Regions from separate parts of the Homo sapiens genome. Here region 1 is linked to region 2. The links are contacts of gene promoters, found by promoter capture Hi-C in blood cells and fetal thymus (Javierre and others, 2016). All regions are on one chromosome and are shown on one strand. Each heading gives the region's core, a stretch centred on a gene start or on the middle of the fragment in contact. The rest is flanking DNA. Distances are from core to core; before and after follow the strand shown.

Region 1 (4,198 bases), core at 822-3,321, 1.1 Mb before region 2:
TGGACAAACACGGTGAGCGCGAGGCTAGGAACAGAGTGAGCGTTATCCACGGCCAAGGGACACCTCTAGGGAGCAATGGGAAACAAAATTTCAACCAGGTCGGAAGGCGGTTTGCCTTTCTCACACTGCCAAGCCCCCCCTGGGAAGCCGAAGCCTTGGGGGTGGGGGGAGTAGGTGTCCTCCAAAGTCCTCTGGCCCCTGCTCCAGAGGGGAGAGGGACAGATGTGACAAGGATGAGGCTTTGCCCTACACCAAGTGTGCCGGGCAAGTTTGGGAAGGTGAAGCAATCTGTGACTTAAATAAATATCTTCTTAGCCAGAAAAATGCCTGCCTTTGAATATTTCTCTGGGAAAAAAAAAAAACTGTGAGGAAGAACACCCAGTTTAAATAGACTGCCAATTTATGCGTGGGCATGGCTTCCTTTGGTAATCAGGGCAGACAGAAGCTGTTTGGGGGCTCACTTCGGATCAGACGGAGCTCGGCTTGGTGTTATTTATGTTCATTCCTCTCTGATTAACAGTTTCCAGCCACTTGAGGGTTAAGGAAACTAAAAATCCTAGGACTTTTTTTTTTCTGGTCCCAGGATAATCTATAGATTGCTTGTCCGGGGAATCTTTGGAAATCCCGTGGGACTGCAAATGTCTGATTTGGGATGGTTAGGGTGTGAGTGTCAGTGTGACTGTGACTGTGTGTGTGTTTTCCGTAGTTAATACTGTAGTTGACACAGTGAGTGGTACTGCAGCACCTAACTCATGTCCACAGATGCCAGTGTCTGCAAAGGGTTGGGGAGGGAGCGGGGGGGCGTTAGGGGGAACAGACACCACTTTCAGGATAACAGATATGATTTGAGAAAATGAAAACATTTGCAAAGTCCCTCCACATTCTCCATTAAAATACATTCTCCTGGGACTCTGTGGCTGGGTGCGTGTATTACATCTCCCAAGATGCCAAGTTTGTCTCTGGAATTTGTTGCTTCTCCTCAGCCTGGCCCCCCAACTCCCAGCTCACATACCCAAATGTAGGACTTTTACATCTCAGTCCAAAAAGACTCTCTGACACCAGAACGGACCAATATTTTTGAAGTACTGCGTGTGCTCCAGGTATTAAATTAACTGAAAAGAAACGGGGTAGAAGCTTGATTATGAAAATCCAAAATAGGACGCTTTGCAAATTATTCCCGGCACAGAGGAAAAGCTACTGGAGCTTCACGCAAGCACATCCCACCCAGGGGGCCCAAAGTTACGCCAAGCACAAACCCACCGGGCTAGTCGAATAGGAAAAGGAAGATTTAATCCAAGAAGCCTGTTTCTCAGGTGAGGGTTTGGGAAGAAACAGGGTCGTGGAGTCAGTCACTCGCGGGGCTTGCCTGGGAACGATATGAAAATACAGTTGCAGCTGAAACTAGATGTGAGCCACTAACGAAGCTCACCCTAAACATGATAGCTGAAGTCCTGTTCACATCTGATGATTCCTTAGAGCTTGTACATTCTCAGCCTCTCTCGGATTATTTTTCTTATATAAAATTTCCATATTCCAATCGAGCACTGTTTATTCAATTTCCCAGAGAATGCCTTCTCATAAATTAGAAACTAGCCGTCTACATATTGATTCTATGAACGATTGCATTAAAATGCCTACTTAATAGTCACTACCATGTCTGCTGAAAGGCTCATCACCAAATGAGAACAAAACGCAGGGATTCAGAATTCAAATGGTAGGGCGCTCACGAAGTCACAAAGTGAACAGCTAATTAACGCTCTTGGAAAAGAACGCTCATCTCCATCACAGATAGTCTCCTTCCCCCAGATAGACAAGGCTAGAACCAGAAAGAAACCTTTAGACAAAAGGAAATCACAGTAACTCATGTCTGTGTAGCCTCCTGTGTGATCTACAAAAGACCTTCCCGTGAGGTGTTCCTCCAGATCTGCGCCACTGTCCTGGGAAGATGCCAGGTTGGTGCTAACATCCCTGTTTCAGGTCCACAAACCAAGGCAGGTAGAAGTGCTTCTTGCCCAAGGTCACGCAGTGAGTCAGTGCAGAGTTGTCACTGGAAGTGACACAGACTCCCACTTGGAGCTTTTGGCTAGAGATTGGGGGGCATTTCTTTCTACAAGTGTGACTCTTCTCTGTGGTCCTGTTTTATGTCCATCAGTGCACACTGACATCCATCAGTTCTCCAAGGGAGTGCTTAGATCATGGTGACCATTTGGGTATTTCTTTTCTTTCTTTTTTCCTTTTCTTTTCTTTTCTTTTTTTTTTTTTTTTTTTCTGAGATGGAGTCTTGCTCCGTCGCCCAGGCTGGAGGGCAGTGGCGCAGTCTCGGCTCACTACAACCTCTGCCTCCCAGGTTCAAGCGATTCTCCTGCCTCAGCCTCCTGAGTAGCTGGGATTACCGGCACGTGCCACCATGCCTGGCTAATTTTTGTATTTTTAGTAGAGATGGGGTTTCACCCATGTTGGCCAGGCTGGTCTCAAACTCCTAACCTCGTGATCCTCCAACCTCAGCCTCCCAAAGTGCTGGGATGACAGGTGTGGGCCACTGCTCCTGGCCCGTTTGGGTATTTCACACCTAAAGAAGATATGAGTATTAAAACAGCAGCATGATCCCTCAGGATGCTTTCCTGGAACCTAGAAAGATAAGCCCTGACTGGAAAAAAGGACAATCTCAGTGAAGCTGGGAAGAGCATGATGAGACAGAAACCTCTGCGCTATTATCTTAATTTTCTATGGACAACCCACACATGCAAGGGTGGTTATGATTACTGTCAAAAGACCTACAGTTTCCTATAAATAACAATTACACCTAATAGTTGCTGAGTGTTTTACTAAACACCAGATCTGGAGTGAAAATAATATTATATACATTGTATTTTACCCTCCTGACAGCAACATGAATATAATTAGTATCCCAATTACACAGAATGGAAAAATAAGGCTGGAAAAAAACAGGTTATGTAACTTCCCCAAGAATAAAAGAAAAAAACTCAATCATCAGTAACCAAGCTTTTACCAACGGACCTGTGGCACACATGTGTGTTTATGGGGTGTGTGTGTGTGTGTGTGTGTGTGTGTGTGTAAAATCTCACATCCATTGCAGTGATATTACACAAAAGTTTTAAATTATATTTCTACTTGCAACTCTCCTTTAGGGTTTAAAATTAATCATTCTCTTTAAAGTTTTTAAAAAATTGATTACAGAATAACTGCTAATTATCTGTTTCTAGACACTGCTCACACAGGTTTCCATTTTTAAAACTTTTTATGTATTTTTTTTTTAAAGACAGAGTCTGGCTCTGTCATCCAGGCTAGAGTGCAATGGTGCAATCTTGACTCTCTGCAACCTCCACCTTCTGGGCTCAAGCAATTCTCATGCCTCAGCCTCCCGAGTAGCTTGGACTACAGGCCTGAGCCACCATGCCCAGCTAATTTTTGGACTTTTTAGTAGAGACGGCATTTCATCATGTTGGCCAGGCTGGTTTCGAACTCCTGACCTCAAGTGATCCACCCACCTCGGGCTCCCAAAGTGCTGGGATTACAGGTGTGAGGCACCGCGTCCAGTCAATATATTTTATGTGTTCCAAACTGTAAAGATTTTTATGAGTCTTAAAAAAAAAAAAAATGAACCTTAAAGCGAAGCTGCTGAAAAAGTGGCCCTAAATGCATTTTTCTTGGGATCCCATATAGTGCAAAGACCCTCCTAAAATCTCCTTTACATGGTTTTGGCAGCTTCCAAACTTAAGGGGAAGGTCCCCCAAGGGGTAGAGAGGGCCTCCTGGAAACCTCAGCTTCTGTGCAAGAAGAGTTGAGGGAAGAGGGTAAATTCGATCTGTAATGAAGCTTGAGATGTAGCAAGACAAAACATCTAGACACCATAATGAGGGACATTTGGTGGCAGTGATGAGAGGGGGACGTGGTCAACTAGATGAGAGAGAATTTTCTCAAGCTGATCATTAAGGACAGGGTGAGCACAGCGGCTCACGACTGTAATCCCAGCACTTTGGGAGGCCAAGGTGGAAGGATCGATTGAGCCCAGCAGTTTGATACCAGCCTGGGCAACATAGTGAGACTCTATAAGAAAAAAAAAAAGCAGGGAGAGGGAGCGGACACAGTGGCTCACACCTATAATCCCAGCACTTTGGGAGGCCGAGGCGAGCAGATCACCTGAGGTTAGGAGTTCCAGACCAGCCTGGCCAACATG
Region 2 (3,860 bases), core at 964-3,463:
CGAGACCAGCCTGGCCAACACAGCGAAACCCCATCTCTATTAAAAGTACAAAAATTAGCTCGATGTGATGGCAGGTGCCTGTAATCCTAGCTACTCAGGAGGCTGAGGCAGGAGAATCGCTTGAACCTGGGAGGCGGAGGTTGCAGTGAGCCGAGATTGCACCATTGCACTCCAGCCTGGGCGACACAGTGAGACTCGGTCTCAAAAAACAAAGAAAGAAACAAACAGAAAAGAAAGAAACAAACAAACAAAAACCTTCACCTGCATGGAGTTTATGTTATATGCAGTACAGTTTATAAACTTATGATTCCTTCTATCGCTTCAAAACGAAGAAAGTTACTTCTCCAAAATTCTGAAATGTGAATCTATGTGCTTTTTAAAATTTTTTTTCAAAAACTCACAATATTGAAAATCAGACATCACATGGTTTAGATGCTTTTTTCCTCTCTTTTATTTGGCTCTTCTGTGACTTCTCTGACTACAGTTTTTCGTTTTCTCCGTAATGTGTTGGACACCCTCGGATGTCATTCCACAGTTAACAAAATTAACTGTAGGATTCCATTTTCTGCATCTACACATCACTGGCATAGGCTCTGGGTATATTATTATTTTTGACATTTTATTTTAAAATCTTTTGAGTCACAAAGGCTGGGGAAACAGTGCCCGGAGTCTCCACGCCACGCTGGGTTTATGTGGAGCAGGTGCGGCTGGGCTCTGGGGTTTAAGAAAAATCCTCGCACAGCTCACGCGCGCCCCCTGCAGCCTGCGGCGCGCAAGGGACCCGCTGCCCTGGAGGTGGGCTCCGTTTAGGGAGGGAAGGCACAGCCGGGCGTCCCCCACCTCACAGCGCCCGCCCTGGTCCCATCCCTGCGCCCCCAGCACCGCGCCCCCAGGGGGTCCCCACGCCGCGCCCATCACCACGCCCGCGCGGATCCCCAGTGTCCACGCCCCTCCCACAAGGACCCCCACCTTCTCCACGCCCCTCCCACCAGGCACGCGGGGACCCCCCCCCCACCCATCTCCCCGCCCTTCCCACCCGGCCCGCGGGGACCCCCATATCCATACCCCTCCGAGCATTCTCGCGGGGACCCTCATCTCCAAACCCCTCCCACCATCCCCGCGGGGATCCCCATCTCCACGCCCCTCCCACCAGGCCCGTGGACACCCCCATCTCCACGCCCCTCCCACCAGGCCCGTGGACACCCCCATCTCCACGCCCCTCCCACCAGGCCCGTGGACACCCCCATCTCCACGCCCCTCCCACCAGGCCCGTGGACACCCCCATCTCCACGCCCCTCCCACCAGGCCCGTGGACACCCCCATCTCCACGCCCCTCCCACCAGGCCCGTGGACACCCCCATCTCCACTCCCCTCCCACCAGGCACGAGGACATCCCCATCCCCACGCCACTCGCACCGGGTCCGCGGGGAACCCCCTATCTCTACCTTCCCCGACGCGGCTCCCACAAGACCCCCATCTCTGCGCCGGGCCCCTCCACGTGCGGGTAAGAACCCCCCACCCCCACAACTGCCCACAACCGCAGCTGCGGAAACCCAGCATTTCCACTCCCCACGCCGCGCCTGCAAGGAACCCCAAGTATCCACGCCAGCCTTTCCTCCCCGGGACCCCGCAGCTGCCTGCGCCATTGCAGGTCTTGGCGCCGCAGGCGGGGTGGGGAGGGGCGGGGCGAGCGCCGGGGGCGGGGACGGGGCCCGGGAGGCGGAGCTGGGGGCGGTGCTTCACCAAGCGGCCGGGGCGGTGCCCGGGGGGGAGGCGGGCGGGGGTGTGGCCTGGGCGTGGCCTCACGGGGAGCTCAATGGCGGCGTGGCATGGGCGTGGCCTGGCGGAGAGGGCAAGGAGGTGTGGCCTGGGCGTGGCCTGGCGGAGCGGTCAATGGCGGCGTGACATGGGCGTGGCCTGGCGGAGAGGGCAATGGAGGTGTGGCCTGGGCGTGGCCTGACGGAGAGGGCAATGGAGGCGTGGTCTGGGCGTGGTCTCAGGGGAGATCAATGGGGCGTGACATGGGCGTGGCCTGGTGGAGAGGGCAATGGAGGTGTGGCCTGGGCGAGGCCTGACGGAGTGTTCAATGGAGGCGTGGCCTGGGCGCGGTCTCGCGGGGAGGCCACTGAAGGCGCGGACTGGGCGTGGCCTCGCGGAGGCGGGCGGGGGCGTGGCCTCGCGGAGGCGGGACTCTGGCCGCCTGTTTTTTTTGCAGCCGCGCTGCGCGCACCGCGGGCTCCGGGCTCAGAAGTGCGGACGCCCGGCTCCCGGCGTGGACGCCATGGTGCTGTGCCCGGTGATTGGGAAGCTGCTGCACAAGCGCGTGGTGCTGGCCAGCGCCTCCCCACGCCGTCAGGAGATCCTCAGCAACGCGGTACGGCCTGGGCCTGGGCGGGGCAGGGGACCGGGGACGGAGGGGCTGAACCCCGGAGGGCCCAGCGACTCAGGAACTCTAGGGATAGGGATGGGAGAGTGACCCGAGACCCTTAGGGATGGGGGAGGGGAGAGTGTCCCGGGACCTCCAGGGATAGGGTTGGGGAGAGTGACCCGGAACCTCTAGGGATGGGGGAGGGGAGAGTAACCCGGAACCCCCTAGGCATGGGGGTGGGGAGTGACCTGGGTCCCCATAGGGATGGGGGAGGGGATCGTAACCCGGGACCCCTAGGAATGGGGAGGGTAGAGTGACCCAGGACCGCTAGGGATGGGGACAGCAGAGTGACCCCGGAGCCCCATGGATGGGGATGAGGAGAGTAACCCGGGACCCCCAGGCATGGGGATGGGGAGAGTAACCCGGGACCTCCAGGGTTGGGGATGGGGAGAGTAAGCCGAGACCCCCCCTAGGGATGGGGGTGGGGGAGTAACCCGGGACCCCTAGGGATGGGGGAGAGGAGAGTAACCCGGGACCCCCAGGCATGGGGATGGGGAGAGTAAGCCGAGACCCCCAGGAATGGGGTTGGGGAGAATAACCCGGGACCCCTAGGGATGGGGTTGGGGAGAGTGACCCAGGACCCCCTAGGGATGGGGGAGGGGAGAGTAACCCGGGACCCCCCTAGGGGTGGGGGAGGGGAGAGAAACCCGGGACACCTTAGGGATGGGGTTGGAGAGAGTAACCTGTAACCTGGGACCCCCTAGCGATGGGGGTGGGGAGAGTAACCCAGGACGCCCTAGGCATGTGGTTGGGGAGAGTGACCCGGGACCCCCTAGGGATGGGGAGGGAGGAGTGACCCAGGACCGCTAGGGATGGGGACAGCAGAGTGACCCCGGAGCCCCATGGATGGGGATGGGGAGAGTAACCCGGGACCCCCAGGCATGGGGATGGGGAGAGTAACCCGGGACCTCCAGGGTTGGGGATAGGGAGAGTAAGCCGAGACCCCCCTAGGGATGGGGGTGGGGAGAGTAACCCGGGACCCCTAGGGATGGGGGAGAGGAGAGTAACCCGGGACCCCTAGGAATGGGGAGGTCAAGTGACCCGGGACCCCCCTAGGGATGGGGGTGGGGAGAGTGACCCGAAACCCCTAGGCATGGGGTTGCAGGGAGTGACCCAGAACCCCCTAGGAATGGGGATGGGAGAGTAACCTGGGACCCCCTAGGGATGGGGGAGGGGAGAGTAAGCCGGGATCCCCCTAGGGATGGGGGTAGGGAGAGTAACCCGGGACCCAAAAGGATGAGGGAGGGGAGAGTGACCTGGAACCCCTAGGCATGGGGTTGGGGAGAGTGACCCAGGACCCCCTAGGGATGGGGGAGGGAAGGGTGACCCGGGACCCCCAAGGAATGGGGAGGGGAGAGTGACCCAGGACCACCTAGGGATGGGGAAGGGGAGAGTAACCCAGGACCCCCTAGGGATGGGGGTGGGGAGAGTA

The links. Contacts are between HindIII fragments. The CHiCAGO score rates a contact against its expected background, and 5 or more counts as called.
Region 1: a fragment that was not itself captured here is called in contact with the fragment with the promoter of ASMTL in region 2 in 2 of 17 cell types (total CD4 T cells and naive CD8 T cells); the score reaches 6.0 in total CD4 T cells.

What each region holds. Positions count from the first base shown.
Region 1 is chrX:2,579,266-2,583,463 of GRCh38, reverse strand. All of the region lies in intron 1 of LINC03112 (long intergenic non-protein coding RNA 3112), which reads left to right. Among named protein-coding and RNA genes, the nearest start is that of LINC03112, 28 kb to the left of the region's middle. RefSeq lists an enhancer at 1-389. The HindIII fragment of the contact is 1,869 bases long and covers 1,137-3,005 here.
Region 2 is chrX:1,451,262-1,455,121 of GRCh38, reverse strand. ASMTL (acetylserotonin O-methyltransferase like) reads left to right here and starts at 2,213. Exons shown (of 13, transcript NM_004192.4): 1 at 2,213-2,374. The coding sequence starts at 2,282. The HindIII fragment of the contact is 27,509 bases long and covers 1-3,860 here.